Linked DNA regions of Homo sapiens: regions 2, 3 and 4 are each linked to region 1. The links are contacts of gene promoters, found by promoter capture Hi-C in blood cells and fetal thymus (Javierre and others, 2016). All regions are on one chromosome and are shown on one strand. Each heading gives the region's core, a stretch centred on a gene start or on the middle of the fragment in contact. The rest is flanking DNA. Distances are from core to core; before and after follow the strand shown. Region 1 holds the start of CHST12 (carbohydrate sulfotransferase 12). Region 2 holds the start of TMEM184A (transmembrane protein 184A). Region 3 overlaps LOC105375123 (a long non-coding RNA gene). Region 4 has its middle 37 kb from the start of ELFN1.

Region 1 (4,365 bases), core at 1,340-3,839:
TAGTGTATTCAAAATGTTGCTGATGTAAGAGGTGAAGTTGACATAACACAAAAGTAACCATTTTACTTATTTATTTATTTATTTATTATTTTTGAGACAGAGTCTCACTCTGTCACCCAGGCTGGGGTGCAGTGGCATGATCTCCGCTTCCAGCCTCCACCTCTCAGGTTTTTTGTTTGTTTGTCTGAGACGGAGTCTCACTTTGTTGCCCAGGCTACAGTTCACTGGCGCGGTCTCGGCTCACTGCAACCTCCAGCCCCTGCGTTCAAGCGATTCTCCTGCCTCAGCCTCCTAACTGGGATTACAGGTGCCTGCCACCACACCCGGCTAATTTTTTGTATTTTTAGTAGAGACAGGGTTTCATCATGTGTTGGCCAGGCTGGTCTCGAATTCCTGATCTCGTGATCTGCCCGCCTACACCTCCCAAAGCACTGGGATCACAGGCGTGAGCCAACAAGCCCAGCTGACCTCTCAGGCTTAAGCGATTCTCCCACCTCAGCCTCCTGAGTGGCTGGGATTGCAGGCGCCCGCCACCAAGCCTGGCTAATTTTTGTATTTTTATTTTTAGTAGAGACAGGTTTCACCACGTTGGCCAGGCTGGTCTTGAACTCCTGACCTCAAGTGATCCACCCACTTCGGCCTCCCACAGTGCTGGGATTACAGGTGTGAGCCACTGCACACGGCTGATAGTGAGAAATTTCTAAGCTGAGACAGGCATCACAGGGTGACATTGCCAGAGGCTGTCACCTTATTTACATACGTGCAATTGCATATATGTATGTATACAACATAGACATATTATACATGCATAATACAGGTCTATATGTATGTGTACAATATATAAACATATATACTACATACATACACATAGGTAACATGTATGCATTACACATACGTATAAACATATTATCTACTGTGAGTGTGTATATAATATACACATATATTTTGTGGTGGTTGTTTGTTGCTTTTCCCCCCCACTAGAATACAGGAGGGCAGGGGCCTTGCCCGTCTCCCTCACTTCCACATTTCCAGGGCCCGGTGGGTTCGGAACTCCTTTGGGACTGGCTGCAGGGAGTGGAAGAGTGAAGAGATGACCTTGGTTGGAAGGCTGCCTCGGGAGTCCATCGGAGGGGGCCAACTAAAAATATCACGGATTGAAAAAGTTCTTGGGGTGGATGGTGGGGATGTGAAAGTGCTTAATGCCACTGCAGGGAGTGCTTAAAAATGGTTAAGATGGGCCGGGCGCGGCGGCTCACGCCTGTAATCCCAGCACTTTGGGAGGCCGAGGCGGGCGGATCACGAGGTCAGGAGTTCGAGACCATCCTGGCTAACACGGTGAAACCCCGTCTCTACTAAAAATACAAAAAATTAGCCGGGCGTGGTGGCGGGCGCCTGTAAGTCCCAGCTACCCGGGAGGCTGAGGCAGGAGAATGGCGTGAACCCGGGAGGCGGAGCTTGCAGTGAGCCGAGATCGGGCCACTGTATTCCAGCCTGGGCGACAGAGCGAGACTCTGTCTCAACAACAACAACAACGACAACAACAACAACAACAACAACAACAAAGGTTAAGATGGTAAATTTTATGTTCTATATATTTTACCATAATTTAAAAAAAAAATGACTGGGCCTGGCGCGGTGGCTCACGCCTGTAATCCCAGAGCTCTGGGAGGCTGAGGCAGGAGGATTGCTTGAGTCTAGGGGTTCAAGACCACCCTGGGCAACATAGTGAGACCCCCGTTTCTATTAAAAATTAAAAATTAGCCGGGTGTGGTGGCACCTGTCTGTAGTTCCATCTACTTGGGAGGCTGAGGTGGGAGGATGGCTTGAACCCAGGAGGTCGAGGCTGCAGTGAGCTGTGACTGCACCGCTGCACCCCATCCTGGACGACACGGTGAGATCCTGTCTCTAAAAAAATAAACAAACAAACACACAAAACTACATTGATGCCAAGAACAATTACTGCATGCTCACTATGCATTAGGCATCTTGCTAAGCTCTTTACCCGTGTCATCTCGTTTGTCTCACATACTCCCTGAAAGGTAGGGTCACTAACCTATTATATTTTACGGATTGGCGACAACCTCAGAGAGGTTAAGTCACTTGCCCAAGGTCACACAGCGAGTCTCAAGCCCCAGCCGGTGAGCATCACGATCCTTTGCCAATGAGCCGATGCTCGAGAAAGGGTCGGATAGACAACAGGCACTGCATAAAGGTTGGTTAACGGGATCGTGTTTGGCTGCAACGTGGAGCTCCCGGGTCGAACGGCGAGACAGCTGCGCGTCCCCGAGCCGCCGCGCGCCCGGTCCGCCGGGGCGGAGTCAACGCCGCGGATTGGCTGCTGAGAAAGGGGCGTGGCTCGTGGCGGCCGGTGGGCGGAGTCGATCTCTGGCCGTAAATACGGCGCCACATGGCACTGGCTCGCGAGGGCGGGGGCGGGCGGGCTGGCCGGGCGCAGGCGCGCTGAGGGCGGGCGCCCCTCGGCCTCCGTGGCCCCTCCGGCGGCCGCGACGTCTCGCGAGAAGACGACCGGTAGGAGGGGCTCCTGCGCCGGGGGCGGGGCCGGCGAGGGCTGCCTCTGGGGGGTCCGCTAGTCGCGGGGCGGCGGCGGCGGCTGCGGGCGCGAGGTGAGGGGCGCGAGGTGAGGGTCGCGAGGTGAGGGGCGCGGCGGGCGGCGGGCTCGGGGCGCGGTCTCCCTCTCTCTCGGCCAGTGCTGGGCTCCCAGGGCCCGGGCGGGGGTCCCGGGCCGCGCTGAGGGGCGCGGGTCGGCTCTCCTTAACCTGGCCTGGCGGGCGCGGCTTGGGCCTGGGTTCGAGTTCCCGCGCCGGCGCGCAGTGTGACCTTGGCCCTGCGCGCGCCCTCTCTGAGCCCCGCTCGTCGTCCTCGGCCAGGGGGACCCAGCCCTGGGGCCCTGATCAGCGCGTTCTGCGGCTCCTCGGGGTCTGGACGAGAAATCTGTGGTTCTGATTCAGCGACAGCAGAGGCTGCAGCGGCCCCGCCGGCCCCCAGGAGTCCCCCTGCCCGGCATCAGCCTCTGCCGCCCGGCAGGGGTAGGACCAATTCCCGGGCTTGGAGTTCCAGGATCCCCAGCTCCCGAGGGCCCCCGTGTGCCTGCTGTCACCTGAACGGGGCTCCCCGGCCCCGCCGACCGCAGCCCTGGAGCCTGCAGACGCCAGCAGCACCGGCAGGTCGCTCAGGGTATCCCTTAAATGACCTCTCACTCCAGAAGCCGCAGCCCTGCCCCTCTGGGAGAGGAAACCGTGCATTTAGTCCGGGAACAGTGGGACTTAGACCTCCTCTGCGGGCTCCCGGCCACCGAGACACCGCCGGCAAAGCCTTGGCTCGGGCAGAGGCTCCGTCTGGCAGGCAGCACAACAAGCCATAGTGTTTCCAGCATTATTAAATTATTTAGTTCATAAGCGGGGCTGTGGGGACTCGGAAGCCCCGGGGTGAATAGGAATGTGAGTTGCAGGCGCGGTGCTGGACGCAGTACATCTTCCAGGACACCAGGCCCTACGGTGCTGTTCCCGGCTGTGGGTGGTTGGGGACAGCTCAGCGGGTCCCCCACTTACCCCCACGCGGGGACCCGGGTTAGCCCCTCACCGTGAGCATCTGGTGTTGGGAGTCAGGGCTGGTGTCTGAGTGAGGATGGAGAGAAAACAGGGGTAATGAGGAGATTGCTACACGAAGGTGCAACGCTTGAGATCTGAAAGAGCACCTGCCTGGAATGGCATAGATGTTTGATTTCCCTGCAAAGGAGTTTATGGGACTTTGGGCTGACGCTTTGGGGCCAGCAGTAACTGTCTGCTGTCACTCAGCTGACTCCAGCTTTATTATCAAACCTCCAATCGAGTGCAAGATGCTAAGCTGGGGTAGATGCCGGTAATAGCGTGGGCCTTGCCCTGGGAGCTCACGGCCAGCCTGGCTACAACTGTGTGGAGTTGAGACTGTGGTGCAGGCGTTAACAGAATGTGGCGACATTTTCCGACATTTTCCACAGTGGAGAGGACCTATGAATTGGGGCGTTTGGAGGCAAAGGGCATGCAGAGATGTGGAAGTGAAAGTGATGTTTGGGGGAGATGGTGGGTCGCCGTGTTCTTGATGAAGTGGGGTTTGAGGATTGGGTTGGAAGCTAAGACTGGAAGGCCGGGCGAGGTGGCTCGTGACTGTAATCCCAGCACTTTGGGAGGCAGAGGCGGGCGGATCACCTGAGGTCAGGAGTCCGAGACCAGCCTGGCCAACATGGTGAAACCCCATCTCTACTAAAAATACAAAATTTAGCTGGGCGTGGTGGTGCACACCTGAAGTCCCAGCTACTTAGGAGGATGAGTCAAGAGAATAGCTTGAACCTGGAGGCGGAAGTTGCAG
Region 2 (4,365 bases), core at 1,216-3,715, 850 kb before region 1:
GCGCTGCCTGGCTGGGTGACCTTGACAAGCCACTGTCCTCTCCGGCCTCGGTCCTCCCATGTATAAAGTGAGGGGGATCCAGCCACTCTGTGTCCTGCCTGGGACTCCTCACTCAAGGGTGACTCTGGCGGTGGGCTCAGGGGTGGGACAGGGCCTGAACTCCAGCCCAAGGGGTCTCCATGAGCCCTGTCTTGACTGCGAGGCCCCATGAAGCTAAAGCCACACTACAGCCGCGCACACACAGCCGGTTCCCAGGATTACAGCGGAAAGACGGCCTCCTCCGGGAAGCCCTCTCTGATGGCCTTACAGGAAGGGCCTGCCTCGGCACTGCCTCCGCGGCTCTGCACACTCCAGGCCACACTCATACACGTCTACCGTGGGTTCTGGTTATCTGTTCACAGCTCACTGCAACCTTGAACTGGGCTCAAGCGATCCTCCCATCTCAGCCTCCCAAGTAGCTGGGACTAACAGTGCAGGCCCCCATGCCCGGCTAATAAGCAGTTAATAAACTGTCACTGAGATGCTCCCTCGGAGACTTGTGGCCACCGGTGTCCCTGCCTGCCAGTCTCCTGATGGCCCCCTGCCCCAGCTCACCTACAGATCCATTCCCTACACCAGTGCCCCGTGCACCCGGGAAGCAGCTCTGCCCTCAGCCCAGCCCTCCACAGCCTTCCTGGGCTCCCAGCACCCCCTGAAAGCCACCTCACCGCACTGGGGTCAAGGGCTCTGGACAAATCCCTGCAGCCGTGTGGCCCTCGCGGGCCTACACACGCACTCCCACCCCACCCCTGCGCACACCGCCCTGGCCTCTCTGTGTATCTGAGTCTCTCAGGAGGGTCCTGTCCCTGACTCCCTGCCCTCTCTGCCCAGCCCCTGCCCTCGGGCACCACTTCCTCCTTGCCCCTGCCTGGCCCTTCCTTGCCACAGCGCCTGGCCGCTTCTCTACCTGGGGGCTGTTCTGTTCCCACCTGGGGACTGCTCCGGGTCGGGGGCTGTGTGTGGCTTCGGGCTTGGGGAAGTTGCTTCTCGCCCATCTCCTGCACAGGAGTCCCGGTCCCTCTAACAAGCTGTGACCTTTGCTCCCCAGCTCCCTACAGAGCAAAGTCCAACCCCCTGCCAACCTCCCACCAGCCTTCTCCAGGGTGTCACGCCTCTGGAAGGAGAAGGCCCCTTCCCCTTTCCAGCTATGTGAGCCTGGGAAAGACCTCTGGTCTCTCTGAGACTCAGTCTTCTTGTCTGTGAAATGGGACCACACTGCAGACCTCAGTGAGCCGAGTGACGAGCCTGTGAAATAGCCAGGGGTGCCCGGTGGGCGCTCTGCCCTCAGCCTGGCAGAGATCTCCCCATTTTCAGGCCCAGCTCCCACATGCCACATCCTGGGGAAGCTCATCCCCTCCCCCGTGCCCTGGCCGATCCCACTTCTGACAGCGTCTATAGCAGCGGCACCCAGGGGGACCGGGCTGAGCCACGGCCACGTCCTGTGGAGACCAAGGTCCTGAAGGAGGCTCGGGGGCGGAAGGGCTTACCTGGTGGCAGGTGAGCACCAGGGCAGTCCACACGAAGATCCCCGAGACGCCTCGGGCCAGTGCGGAGGTGAGGAAGAGCCAGGGGGCCCCCTGGGAGCTGTTCCCCATGTGGTCCATCTGCGGCCCAGCTGGCACAGCCGGTGGGGGGCTGGGCTGCGGCCAGTTCGCTGACACCAGGGGGACGCCGGCTGTCTCCAGGATCCCTGAGACATTACTCATCTGCAGAGGGAGGGAGGACACACACCGGGAGGAGTGAGGGCAAAGGTACTGGCTCCCGGCAGCAGGAAGCAGCGGGGGAGGGAGGAGACAGTGAGACGGGAGCTGAGGCTGAGCCACCCACCAGGCCGCACCCCCCACACGGACACCAGCGCCAGGCCCGGCTCCCTCCCTGCTCCGAGCTCAGCCATCGAAGCTCACCCATCAACCACCTGCGACCTGAGGGTCCCACCTCAATTCCCCCTTGTAAAACCAGCTTCCAACTCCGAGTCTCAGGCTTGCAGGGAGCCTGCTTCTTAGGGGACAAAGACCGTCTTCCAGTGGGGCAGAAGAGGGGGAACCCCTGCCGCCCTGCCTGCCCGGGAGGGCTGGGGAGCGGGCGCAGACCAGCACTGCCTGCCCCGGCAGGAGGGGGTGTGCAGCCACCCTCATGGGAGGAGCCGGCCCTCACTGGCTCTGGGACCTGTCCACCCACCTGGGAGCCCGGCTTTGCTGGGGTTCTTGGCAGCCCTGGGTGCCTGTTCCATCTCCCACTAACCTGCTGGGGCCCTGAGTCCACCCTCTCCCACACTCGCAGCCCAGTCCAGCCTCCTCCTCTCCCTCTGGTCTGCGGTCACAGGGCCCAGCTCTACCTTTGCTGGCAGGAAGCACCTGGCCCAGTCCAGGGAGGCCTGGCCTCCAGGGAAGCCTAGCTGGTCATTCTCATGGCCACGTGGCCCCAACTGGAGGCCCCACTGTGGGTGCGGCAAGGCCAGGATCTGAAGGGCTGTGCCAGGCTGGGGCGGGGCGGCCAGTGCCTCACGTCCCCAGTGGCCCACCTGGGCCCCAGGCTGCAGGCCCGTCCCCTCCTGTCCCCTCCCACGGCTGACACCCTATCCTCCCGGTTGTTTGCTGGGTGGCAGCTGGCTCCCAGGAACCTGCTGGCCGCCTGGCGCCCTCACCTGCCTATGCCAGACGGCCAGGCAGCTGCCACCTGGTGGGGACACGTGGGAGAGGTCTGCGGCAGGCCAAGGAGGGCCGGGCTGCAGGAGGAGGGGTGGAGAGCTAATGGTACAGGGTTTCTCTGGGGGGTGACAGGAGTCCTGAAATGAGGTAGAGGCGGCAGGCACACAGCACTGTGGATATACTTACCGCCACCGAATCGTTCACTTAAACCTGGGTAAATTGATGTTATGTGAATTTCATCTGAATTAAAAAAAAAATCCACGCCCCAAGAGATGAGTTGAAAACATTTGTTTTCTGGGCCGGGCGTGGTGGCTCACGCCTGTCATCCCCACACTTTGGGAGGCCAAGGTGGGTGGATCACTTGAGGTCAGGAGTTCGAGACCAGCCTGGCCAACATGGTGAAACGCCGTCTCTACGAAATACGCAAAAATTAGCTAGGTGTGGCAGCGTGCACCTGTAATTCCAGATACTCAAGAGGCTGAGACAGGAGAATCGCTTGAACTCAGAAGGCGGAGGTTGCAGTAAGCTGAGATCACACCACTGCACTCCAGCCTGGGGACAGAGGGAGACTCTGTGTCCAAAAAAAAAAAAAAAAAAAAAAGGAAATATTTCTGGTTTTTGTGGATCAAGGCAGGAGAGGGGGAGTGACAGCCCAGTCCCTGGACCCTTTGGGGTCTGGCAAGGGGTTGCGGGGCCCTGAGGGTCCCTGTCACCCCCATGCAGAGGCCCCTGTGGAGAAAAAACTCACTCACCCCGGCTCCTGGGAGAGGGATGTGGGCCCTCAGCCCACCTCTTGTCCTGTTCTGGTTACGCTTGGGCTCATGCCGCTGGGGCCACCATTACCAAGTCCCGCTCCATGCCCGCAACGGATCCACACACTCCTTGTCCTTCATATCTCCTACCCTCCCACAGCCCTGAGCAACAGGGCTCAAGGGGTTGAGGCTGGAATGACTGGAGCCACTGTTCCCCTTTTATTTTTAATTAATTTATTTTTTGAGACGGAGCCTCGCTCTGTCGCCAGGCTGGAGTACAATGGCGCGATCTCGGCTCACTGCAACCTCCGCCTCCTGGGTTCAAGTGATTCTCCTGCCTCAGCCTCCCGAGTAGCTGGGATTACAGGCGCCCACCACCACACCTAGCTAATTTTTGTATTTTTAGTAAAGACGGGGTTTCACCACGTTGGCCAGGCTGGGCTTGAACTCCTGACCTCAGGTGATCTGCCCGCCTCAGCCTCCCAAAGTGCTGGGATTACAGGTTTGAGCCACCACGTCCGGCCTGTTCCCCTTTTAGAGATGGGAACGAGAGGCGCATCAACGCGTCCAGCATCCTTGAGGGGTCCGTGAGGGGCCCGGGCTGAGGCCCATCCTTCCCTGGGACACCCTGCCTGCTTTTCCCAACTCCTCCACTGACACTGTCCCTCCAGGGAGGCTCCCAGGTGGGGAACAAGCTCAGGAAGTCGTGCCCAGCTCTCAGGCCCGCCTTGCCTAACCTCCCCATCAGCGCCCACCCGGGCCCGGGCCCAGAGCCACAGCATGCACACCCTGGCTGGGCCCTCCTGGAGCCTGCCTGCTCCCCAGGCAGGGACCTTCTGGACCAACCGACCCTGCTCCCGGGTGACTCTGTCCTGCAGCCTCAGGCGTCACCTCTGGAGAGACCATCCCCGCTGTCCCATCACCCT
Region 3 (4,365 bases), core at 517-3,016, 810 kb before region 1:
TCTTCCCCCCTTTTTTCTCCCTCCTCCTTCTTCTTTCCCTCCTCCCTCCATCCCTCTCTCCTCTATGCCTCCCTCCCTCCATCTATCCTCCCTCTTTCCATCTCTCCCTCCCTCCCTCCTCCATCCATCCTCCTATCCATCCACCCTCCCATCTATCCATCCATCCATCCATCCATCCATCCATCCATGCATCCACCTTCCCATTCATCCATTTATCTATTCATCCATCCGTGCATCCATCCATCCACTGTCCCTTCTATCCCTCCATCCTCCCATTCATCCATCCTCCCATTCGTCCACCCTCCTATCCACCCACTCTCCCATTTATCCATCCTCCCATCCGCCCTCCCATCCATCCACCCTCCCATCCATCCATGCATGCATCCATCCATCCATGCATCTATCCATCCATCCATTTATCCATCCACCCTCCCATCCATCCACCCTCCCATCCATTCATGCATGCATCCATCCATCCATCCATGCATCTATCCATCCATCCATTTATCCATCCACCCTCCCATCCATCCACCCTCCCATCCATCCACCCTCCCATCCATCCATGCATCCATCCATGCATCCATCCATCCATCCATCCATCCATCCATCCTTCCATCCTTCCACCCTGCCATCCATTCGCCCTCCCATTCATCCATCCATTCTCCCATCCATCCACTCTTCCATCCATCCATCCATCCATCCTCCCTACATCCACCCTCCCATCCATCCATGCATCCATCCATCCATCCATCCATCCATCCTCCTATCTATCCACCCTCCCTTCTATCCATCCATCCTCCCATCCATCCATCCATTCTCCCATCCATCCACCCTCCCACCCATCCATCCTCCCATCCATCCATCCATTCTCCCATCCATCCACCCTCCCACCCATCCATCCTCCCATCGATCCATCTATCCATCTTGCCATCCATCCACCCTCCCGTCCATCCATCTATCCATCCTCCCGTCCGTCCATCCATCCATCCATCCATCCATCCATCCATCCTCCCATCCATCCACCCTCCCGTTCATCCATCTATCCATCCTCCCATCCATCCTTCCATCCATCCTCCTGTCCATCCCTCCATCCATCCTCCTATCCATCCACTTTCCCATCCATCCATCTATCCATCCTCCTATCCATCCACCTTCCCGTCCATCCATCTATCCATCCTCCCATCCATCCACCCTCCCATCCATCTATCTATTCATCCTCCCATCCATCCCTCCCATCCACTCATGCATTCATCCATCCATGCATCCATGCATCCATCCATCCATCCATCCATTTATCCTCCCGTCTATCCACCCTCCCTTCTATCCATCCATCCTCCTATCCATCCATCCATCCACCCATCCCTTCTCCCACCCATCCACCCTCCCATCCATCCGTCTATCCATCCTCCCATCCATTCACCCTCACATCCATCCTCCCTCCATCCATCCTCCCAGCCATCCACCCTCCCACTCATCCAAGCAGTCCTTGCTTGTCTAGGACTGTAGGAGCTCTGTCAGCTCTGGAGATACGGCAGTGAACAGGACTAGAAAGGCCACTGCCTCCACGGAGCTCCCTGTTTAGTAGAAGAGAAAGAAAACAAGAAACGAACATGCCTGTATTTCTGTGTACATGAATGCTGAGAATCTGGAGAGACCAGCTGGGATGAATTGGAATCCGGGGGCCTGGGTGGTTTCTGATGAAGAGATGTTTGGGCTGGGGCTGCAGCAGGGGCCAAGCTGGCCATGGGATGGAGAAGAGGCCAGTCCTGCCCATGTCAAGTCTGGAGAGGGTGGGGCAGGGGCGAGGGTGAGATAGGGACCTGAACGTTCATTCTGGAGCTGTTTCACAAGCACCTCCAGTGCACCAGAGTCCTGGGACTGGCTGTGGCACGGGCATGGGGTGGGGTGGGATCGTGAGCACCCCTCACCTCACGATCCCCTCGTCCCTTCCCTCACCCGCCGCTGCCCACACCCCCGGCTCCTTCCAGGATAGAGCCCGGAAAACAAGTCGGGGGAGGGAGGGTGCAGAGATCAAGATAAACCCCTCTCCCCAAATCATATTCCAATTCCTCAATTTCACCTCCTCACTCAACAGGGAGCCATCTCTCTAGTTTTCCAGGCCAACCCTTAGGAGCTGGGGATTTATTTGTGCATTTTTAACCCATTGTACAGATTCTGACTCCATTAGCGAAGCCACACCTTGGGGGCCACAGTGCCTTTCGTCTGCAAAGGGGCCCTGCAAAGACCGGTCAGGAAAAATTAATTAAACATTTTAACCTCTCAATGCCTCATGGCTGCGACATTCCCCTCCCGTGTCAGCCAAGAGAGAAACAGCCGTGTTTATCTACAAGCTCCTGGAGGAGCAGAGGCCACTCAGCCCCTGATACAATCTTGGGTGCCGTGTGCGTGGGGACAGTTTACAGCCCCGCATGACAGAAATCAGATATTTAGGGAGATGGAGTGATGGCCTGGCGTTAGTGGGGTCCGACGTGTTCCAGGCTCCGTGCCCTATCCCCAGGGCTCTAATGGCTGTGTGTGGGTGGGGGTGTACTCCACCTATGAGGCGCTGGGAGTCAAATGCATTTATCAGCTTCCTGGAGATTTAAAACCCAATAGCCTCTCTCCTGCCATTGCAGAGAATGGCAACAGTGTACGCAGGCGAAACACGTGGTTCCCAGGGTCCACGCTGCTTTTTCTTCCCCCAGGCCTGCAAATTATTCTCCCCGTGGTCTTTCTGCTTGAGTCACTGACTCTATGCTCGTTTACCAACCAGGTACCCTGTGCCAGGTGCCGTGTCCACGCTGGGTCACCTCGGGGGCCAAGACAGCTGATGGCCGCATCCGGGGGTGTGGACAGATGGGAAGAGGAGCGCACCAGTCAATGCGTGAGCCCATTTCCGGCAATCAGCGCCACGACGGTACCAACGTGGAGGGGCGCAATCGTGCCTGGGCGGGTGGTTCGAGGAGGAGCATCTGAGGAGGTGATGTTTCGGTTGAGGCTTGAGTGCCGAGCAGAAGGCAGGCAGGTGGAGGTCGAGGGAAAAGCATTCTGGGCGGAGGGAACAGTGTATGTAAAGGCTCGGAGGCAGAAAAGGACTCAAATGTTTTAGGGACTGAAAGAGAGGCAGCTTCCTTCAACTGCCAACTGCCATGATGAGTTATTGCAAACTGTGGGACTTAAAACCACAGAAAGTTACCATCCCACAGGTCAGGAGGGAACCAAGGAGTCGGAGTCAGCAGGGCTGGTTCCTTCTTGAGGGTCCTGGCAGCGGAGAATTTATTCCAGGCCCTTCTCCTGCTTCTGGCAGCTGCCAACAGCTCATGGCTGACACACCGCTGCAATCTCTGTTGCTGTCATCCCACGGCCCTCGTCACATGGCCTCTGTGTCTCTGTGTCCTTCTCTGTTCTTACAAGGACATCTGTCATTGGATTTGGGGCCCATCCTGAATCCAGGATGACCTCATCTTGATGTCTTTAATCAATTCCATTCCCTAAGACCAATTCACAGGGTGAAAGGTCCCATGCACAGGTCCCAGGGGTCAGCGCTTGGGTAGCTCTTTTTGGGGTCCCCGTTCACCCCATGGCAGGCAGCACGTGATCTCGGTGGTGAGCCAGGAGGCTCACGGTATGAGACGAAGGAGCCAAGGTGGCGGGGCGAGGCTCCGTAAGGCCTCTGGCCCCTGGCACGGGGTTGGCTGTGTTCAGGGTGCAGCTGGCAGCTGCTGTGGGGTTTGCAGGGGCCTGGATGTGGGCACAGGGAAGAGAGGATGATCCTCAGAGCTTCCAGGGGGTCTGTGGGGGGCAGGGCCTCTCACACTTCATTGAGAGGAAAATGGAGAAACCAGAACTCCTGGGGCCTTTGGGAAAATGGAGCAGTGATGGAGGAAGAAGGGGAGATGCCGCGGGAGGCCATGGGACGTATGGAGGGGATCGAGTGTGGGTCGTGACAGTCCCCGGCTCACGGGTGGGATCCCAGGCTCAGCTGGGCAGAAGGGCCAGCAGGAGGGTTAAGTGTATCCTGAGGCCCGTGGCTGGATAGGATGTCACACTGAGTTTTTAAATTACACTTTTCAAAAACATAAAAGTATTTACCAACCTTGAGGGGCTGCACCTGCTGAGTTCTGATGCCTCCTTGCGGGGGTCATTAAGGAGATGGAGGCTGGTGCAGAGGCCAGTGCGGGGCATGCGCTGTGTGACCCTGAGCCAGCCCCTGCTCCCTCTGGGCCGCCCTTCTGTATCAATTACGAGGTCTCCAGGCCTCCGGCGCATCTTCGTGCCTGTAATTTTCCCCAAAATCTGAGAGAAGCTTCCCACCCACGATTGCCTTCCAGGCCTGCTCTCTGGTGTAAACACGGCCTCAGCTGA
Region 4 (4,365 bases), core at 523-3,022, 770 kb before region 1:
CTCACCCCATCCACCTATCATTAACCCATCCATTCAGTCATCCATTCATCTACTTGTCTACCCACCCATCCATCTATCCATCCACCCATCTACTCATCCACACATCCACCCTTCCATCCATCCACCTGTCTATCCATTCATCCGTCTATCCATACACTCATCCATCTCTCCATCCATTCATCCACCATCTACCCATCCATCCCTCTACACTCTGTCCATTTAACCATCCACCATCCATCCATTTATCCCATCCACCCACCCATTCATCTATCCATCATCCACCCATTCACCCACCCATTCATCCATCCATCCATCATCCACCCACCCGTTCATCCATCCATCCATCATCCACCCACCCGTTCATCCATCCATCCATCATCCACCCACCCATTCATCCATCCATCATCCACCCATCTACCCACCTATTCATCTATCCATTTACCCATTCACCCACCCATTCCTCCATCCATCATTCACTCATCCACCCACCCATTCATCCATCCACCTACTCATCCACTCACCCATTCATCCATCCACCTACTCATCCACCCACCCATTCATCCATTCACCTACTCATCCACCCATTCATTCATCCATCCATCATTCACCCATACCTCCTTCTATCTTCTTCCACATACTCATCCCAATTTCTGATCAACAACTGTTTTGGACACTGGGCCACAGATGTGCCTTCCAAGACCTAAGTTGCCTTATCTTTAAATGAAAGAGTCGAATGAACCCATTTCCCAGGGCCCTTCACACTCTGGCATTCTTTGACTTCTATGCAGGCACAACCTTCCATAAGAAGGGTGAGGAGCTGGGCCATGTCAGAGAGAAGACCTGATGTCCACTGACGTGGGGCACAGACCGAGATTTCACCACCGTTTCCCTTGCCCCTATTTGAACCAAGGCCACAGGAACTGAGATCCCATCATAGGGGCAAGCATAGCAAACGTCCCAGAAATGGCCCCTATTGGTTGCAGGTGGCTTAACTGGGCATCCAGAGGGTGTCCCTTACTGTCCCGTTCCAGTGGGAGCCACCTGATGACCTCTGCAGCCACGGAATCCACAGTACACTGAAGAAGTAGTTGTTGGGCACAGAGGGCTGAGAGCCAGTCTAAAGGCAGGGCAGGGGCCTCCTCAGGGAAGCCTCAGGCTTGTCTTCCCCCAGGGAAGTGTCCAGGTCCATGATGTCACCGCTGAAGCTGCAAGCCACAGACATGGTCTTTGAGCTGACATCATCATCAGACCTAGGATCCCTGCCCATATGTCCCCCACCTGACCTGTGCACACTCTGCCTCACATGTGCACATTCTTTTTTTTTTTTTTGAGACAAAAAGTCTCGGTCTGTCACCCAGGCTGGAGTGTAGTGGCATGATCTCGGCTCACTGCAACCTCTGCCTCCCAGGTTCAAGTGATTCTCCTGCCTCAGCCTCCCAAGTAGCTGGGATCACAGGTGCACGCCACCACATCTGGTTAATTTTTTTTTGTATTTTTAGTAGAGACAGGGTTTCACCACCTTGGCCAGGCTGGTCTTGAACTCCTGTCCTCATGGTCCACCCACCTTGGCCTCCCAAAGTGCTGGGATTACAGGCATGAGCCACTGCGCCCGGCCACCTGTGTACATTCTATAGCACCTGTGCACACCCCCATCTCATCTGGGCACACTCTACCTCACCTGGGCATATAGTTCATCCTCACCTGTGCACATCCTCCCTTACCTGGGCATCTCACTTGTGGGCAACTTCACCTGTGCACACCCTCATCTCACCTGGGCACACCCTTGCCTCACACTCTTACCTCACCTGTAAGTACCTCCACCTTACCTGTGCGTACCCCTACCTCATCTGGGCATACCCCACCTACCCTGTGCACACCCTAACCTCACCTGTAAGCACCCCCACCTCACCTGTACACACCAAGGCTGCTTACAATCCACACCTGTGTCCCCAGCCAGGCCTGAATATCAGTAGGGCTGCCGAGCAGTGAAGCTGACATCCACGGATGGCCTTCCAGGGTCGGGAGAGGCAGGACCCTGCAAGGAGGGCATTGACCCCTTGCCTCTTCTGCCTCCCCCCACCGTGGGGACCCTGGGCAGTCCTTGACTCCCTGGCAGTGCAGGGCCAGGTGAGACGGCACTGGCTAGGCCCCGGTGGAGGTTTTCACCTCCGCACTTCTCTCTGTTCTTCTGCTCTGTGGCTTCTGCCTCAGTGGGGAGGTGGACAGAGCTGAGCACAAAGAAATCAATGGACTTTCAGGATGAATTTTTAAAGACCAGCAGCAGTGGCACTATTCTAAAGCACAGAGGATTTCTTTTGCAAGAGCAGGGCTTTTTGAGAAAGGAAAAGGTTTTAAGTGAGAACATGGACTTTACTGGCTTAAGCCGTAGAGCGGGGGAGGCTGTGGGGAGCCTCTTTCCTGTCTGAGAGAAGGCAAGGGTTGGACCATGGGGCGGGGGCAGGGAAAGGGTGCCCCAGTCCCTCACGTGGCCACTGCCTGGGTGAAGCCACATGGGGGTGGCTGCTGGGAGACCCAGGGGAGCGGGGGGGGGATGTCAACGTAGACCTGTGCTTGATACACTCCTTAGAAGTCTGGAGAAATCCTCACACCAGCACAGGGGTGTCCCCCAGGGGAGAGGAGCCCCAGCCATGGCTCCGGCAAGCCTGTTGGGGCAGGGGGCAGTTCACGTCCTGGTGGTCCCTAAGAGGTGGGCCGGGCTCCAGCAAGCAGGAGGTCTCGAAGTTAGCACAAAGAGTTCCCAAGGGGTGTTAGTGGACACGGAGGGCAGGGTTCCTGGATAGCTGGGCCAGACTGGCCACAGAACCTGTGGGAGCCTTACCTGGGCCCCATGTGGAGGCACAGGCAGGCGGATGGGGGAGAGGGGGAGGGCGGAGGAATCAGGACAGAGTGAGTGCTGGCCCTGAGGCTGAGACAGCTGGAAGGGGTGGGTGACCCTGAGTGGGCTGGCGACAAGGGTGATTCCTGGGGAAGCAGAGAGTTCCTGCAGAAGGGACTTGGTTCTGCAAACTCACTGCTCAGCTTCCACATGGCCCTTAAGCCCTGCTCCTCTGCGGCAATCTTCCTTCTGTGGGGTTTTTGGGTACCCTCCACCACACTGACTCAGGACAGCCCTTTCCCATGAAGGTCACTGTGGTGGGGAGAACAGACAGCCCCGTTGCCCTGGGAGGCCACAGGTGAGTCCTTGTCACTGCGCTCTGAAGCTGGCTGGGAGGCCCTGAGTTCCCTGACATGCAGCCCCTGGTGGGGGACTTGGGGGTGCTGACATTCATGCAGAGAGAGGGGCTGGGGTCTGGGGTCTCACCATGCATCCCCTAATGCTGCCTGGTGCTGTAGCATTTTCTGGACAAGAAAACAAGCCCTCCCAAACCTGGGCTTCTCCTGGGGGAGCCACCTTTCACTGACAGTGGCACAGGTGCCTGGGTGGGTGCTCAGGCTCTCCCCTCATTCCTGCAATGATCTAGGCAGGCGGTAACCCCCAACCGTGCAGGGTGTCAGAGAGCAGAACCCAGAGGCCCTTCTGTCCCCACCTTCCCCTGCAACTGTGGCCTGCTTGGTCTGAAACCACTCTCATAGCTCTGTATGTGTCTCTCCTCATTGTCTCTCTGCCCAACTCCCGGATCTCCCTCTCCATCCCCGTGTCTCCCTCCAGGCTAGCCTTGTAGTGGGGCTGCTGGGTAGGTGTGGCCAAGGCAGGATTTGGGAAGAATGGGTTGGGGTCAGCTGCCCCGGGTACCTTCTGCAGGTGCTCAAGGCTCTGCAGGAGCTTGTAGAAGTCCCTCCTTCCCAACTCTGTCGCTGTCCCTCTCTCCGGAGCACCCTAGATTCCTGCCCCTCTATGTCTTCCCTGTGTGCTTCAGCTGAGTGAGTGACGCCCCCTTGACTCACTCCTCTCTCAGGCTCTGTCATGACTGATCTTCTCTGAACACCATTGTGGGTCAGGTCATGGGAGCACAGGGATGGATGTGGGGCTGGGAGTCCACTTTCAAGAGTGTGCATCCCATGGCTGGCAGGTGGGCACCAGCTGTCACTGAGAGCTCAGGCTGGGCTATGGGCCACTGTCCTCAGTTCCTGTCCATGTGTCCTCTCCATGGGCTGTTGGGCTTCCTCACATCATGGCAGCTGGGTTCTAAGAACGAACACCCCCAATAAAGCAAGGTGGAGTGCAGGGCACTTAGAAGTCAAGTAGCATCACCTTTGCCAAGTTCTATGGGACGAGGGTCTGCCCAGAGTCAAGGGGAAGGGATGGAGACCCCAACACTTGATGAGAGAAAGGTCAAGGTCACATTGTGAGAAGAGACTGTTGAATGGGAGATATCATTGCAGCTATCTTTGGAAAAGACAATC

What was found. Contacts are between HindIII fragments. The CHiCAGO score rates a contact against its expected background, and 5 or more counts as called.
Region 2: the fragment with the promoter of TMEM184A here is called in contact with the fragment with the promoter of CHST12 in region 1 in 2 of 17 cell types (monocytes and non-activated CD4 T cells); the score reaches 5.7 in monocytes.
Region 3: a fragment that was not itself captured here is called in contact with the fragment with the promoter of CHST12 in region 1 in 11 of 17 cell types (total CD8 T cells, M0 macrophages, non-activated CD4 T cells and 8 more); the score reaches 8.2 in total CD8 T cells.
Region 4: a fragment that was not itself captured here is called in contact with the fragment with the promoter of CHST12 in region 1 in 5 of 17 cell types (naive B cells, total CD4 T cells, M1 macrophages and 2 more); the score reaches 6.1 in naive B cells.

Annotation. Positions count from the first base shown.
Region 1 is chr7:2,401,022-2,405,386 of GRCh38, forward strand. CHST12 (carbohydrate sulfotransferase 12) reads left to right here and starts at 2,590. Exons shown (of 2, transcript NM_018641.5): 1 at 2,590-2,652. RefSeq lists an enhancer at 2,067-2,166 and silencers at 2,257-2,626, 2,717-2,886. The HindIII fragment of the contact is 31,732 bases long and covers 1-4,365 here.
Region 2 is chr7:1,553,740-1,558,104 of GRCh38, forward strand. TMEM184A (transmembrane protein 184A) reads right to left here and starts at 2,466. Exons shown (of 9, transcript NM_001097620.2): 1 at 2,375-2,466; 2 at 1,527-1,745. The coding sequence starts at 1,745. RefSeq lists silencers at 992-1,174, 2,542-2,611, 2,652-2,741 and enhancers at 1,284-2,084, 1,654-1,948, 2,085-2,884. The HindIII fragment of the contact is 30,451 bases long and covers 1-4,365 here.
Region 3 is chr7:1,593,988-1,598,352 of GRCh38, forward strand. It overlaps LOC105375123 (a long non-coding RNA gene), which reads left to right. Exons shown (of 8, transcript XR_001745048.2): 3 at 2,774-2,917. Among named protein-coding and RNA genes, the nearest start is that of PSMG3-AS1, 26 kb to the left of the region's middle. The HindIII fragment of the contact is 5,076 bases long and covers 1-4,304 here.
Region 4 is chr7:1,630,671-1,635,035 of GRCh38, forward strand. No RefSeq gene overlaps it. Among named protein-coding and RNA genes, the nearest start is that of ELFN1, 37 kb to the right of the region's middle. The HindIII fragment of the contact is 5,736 bases long and covers 1-4,365 here.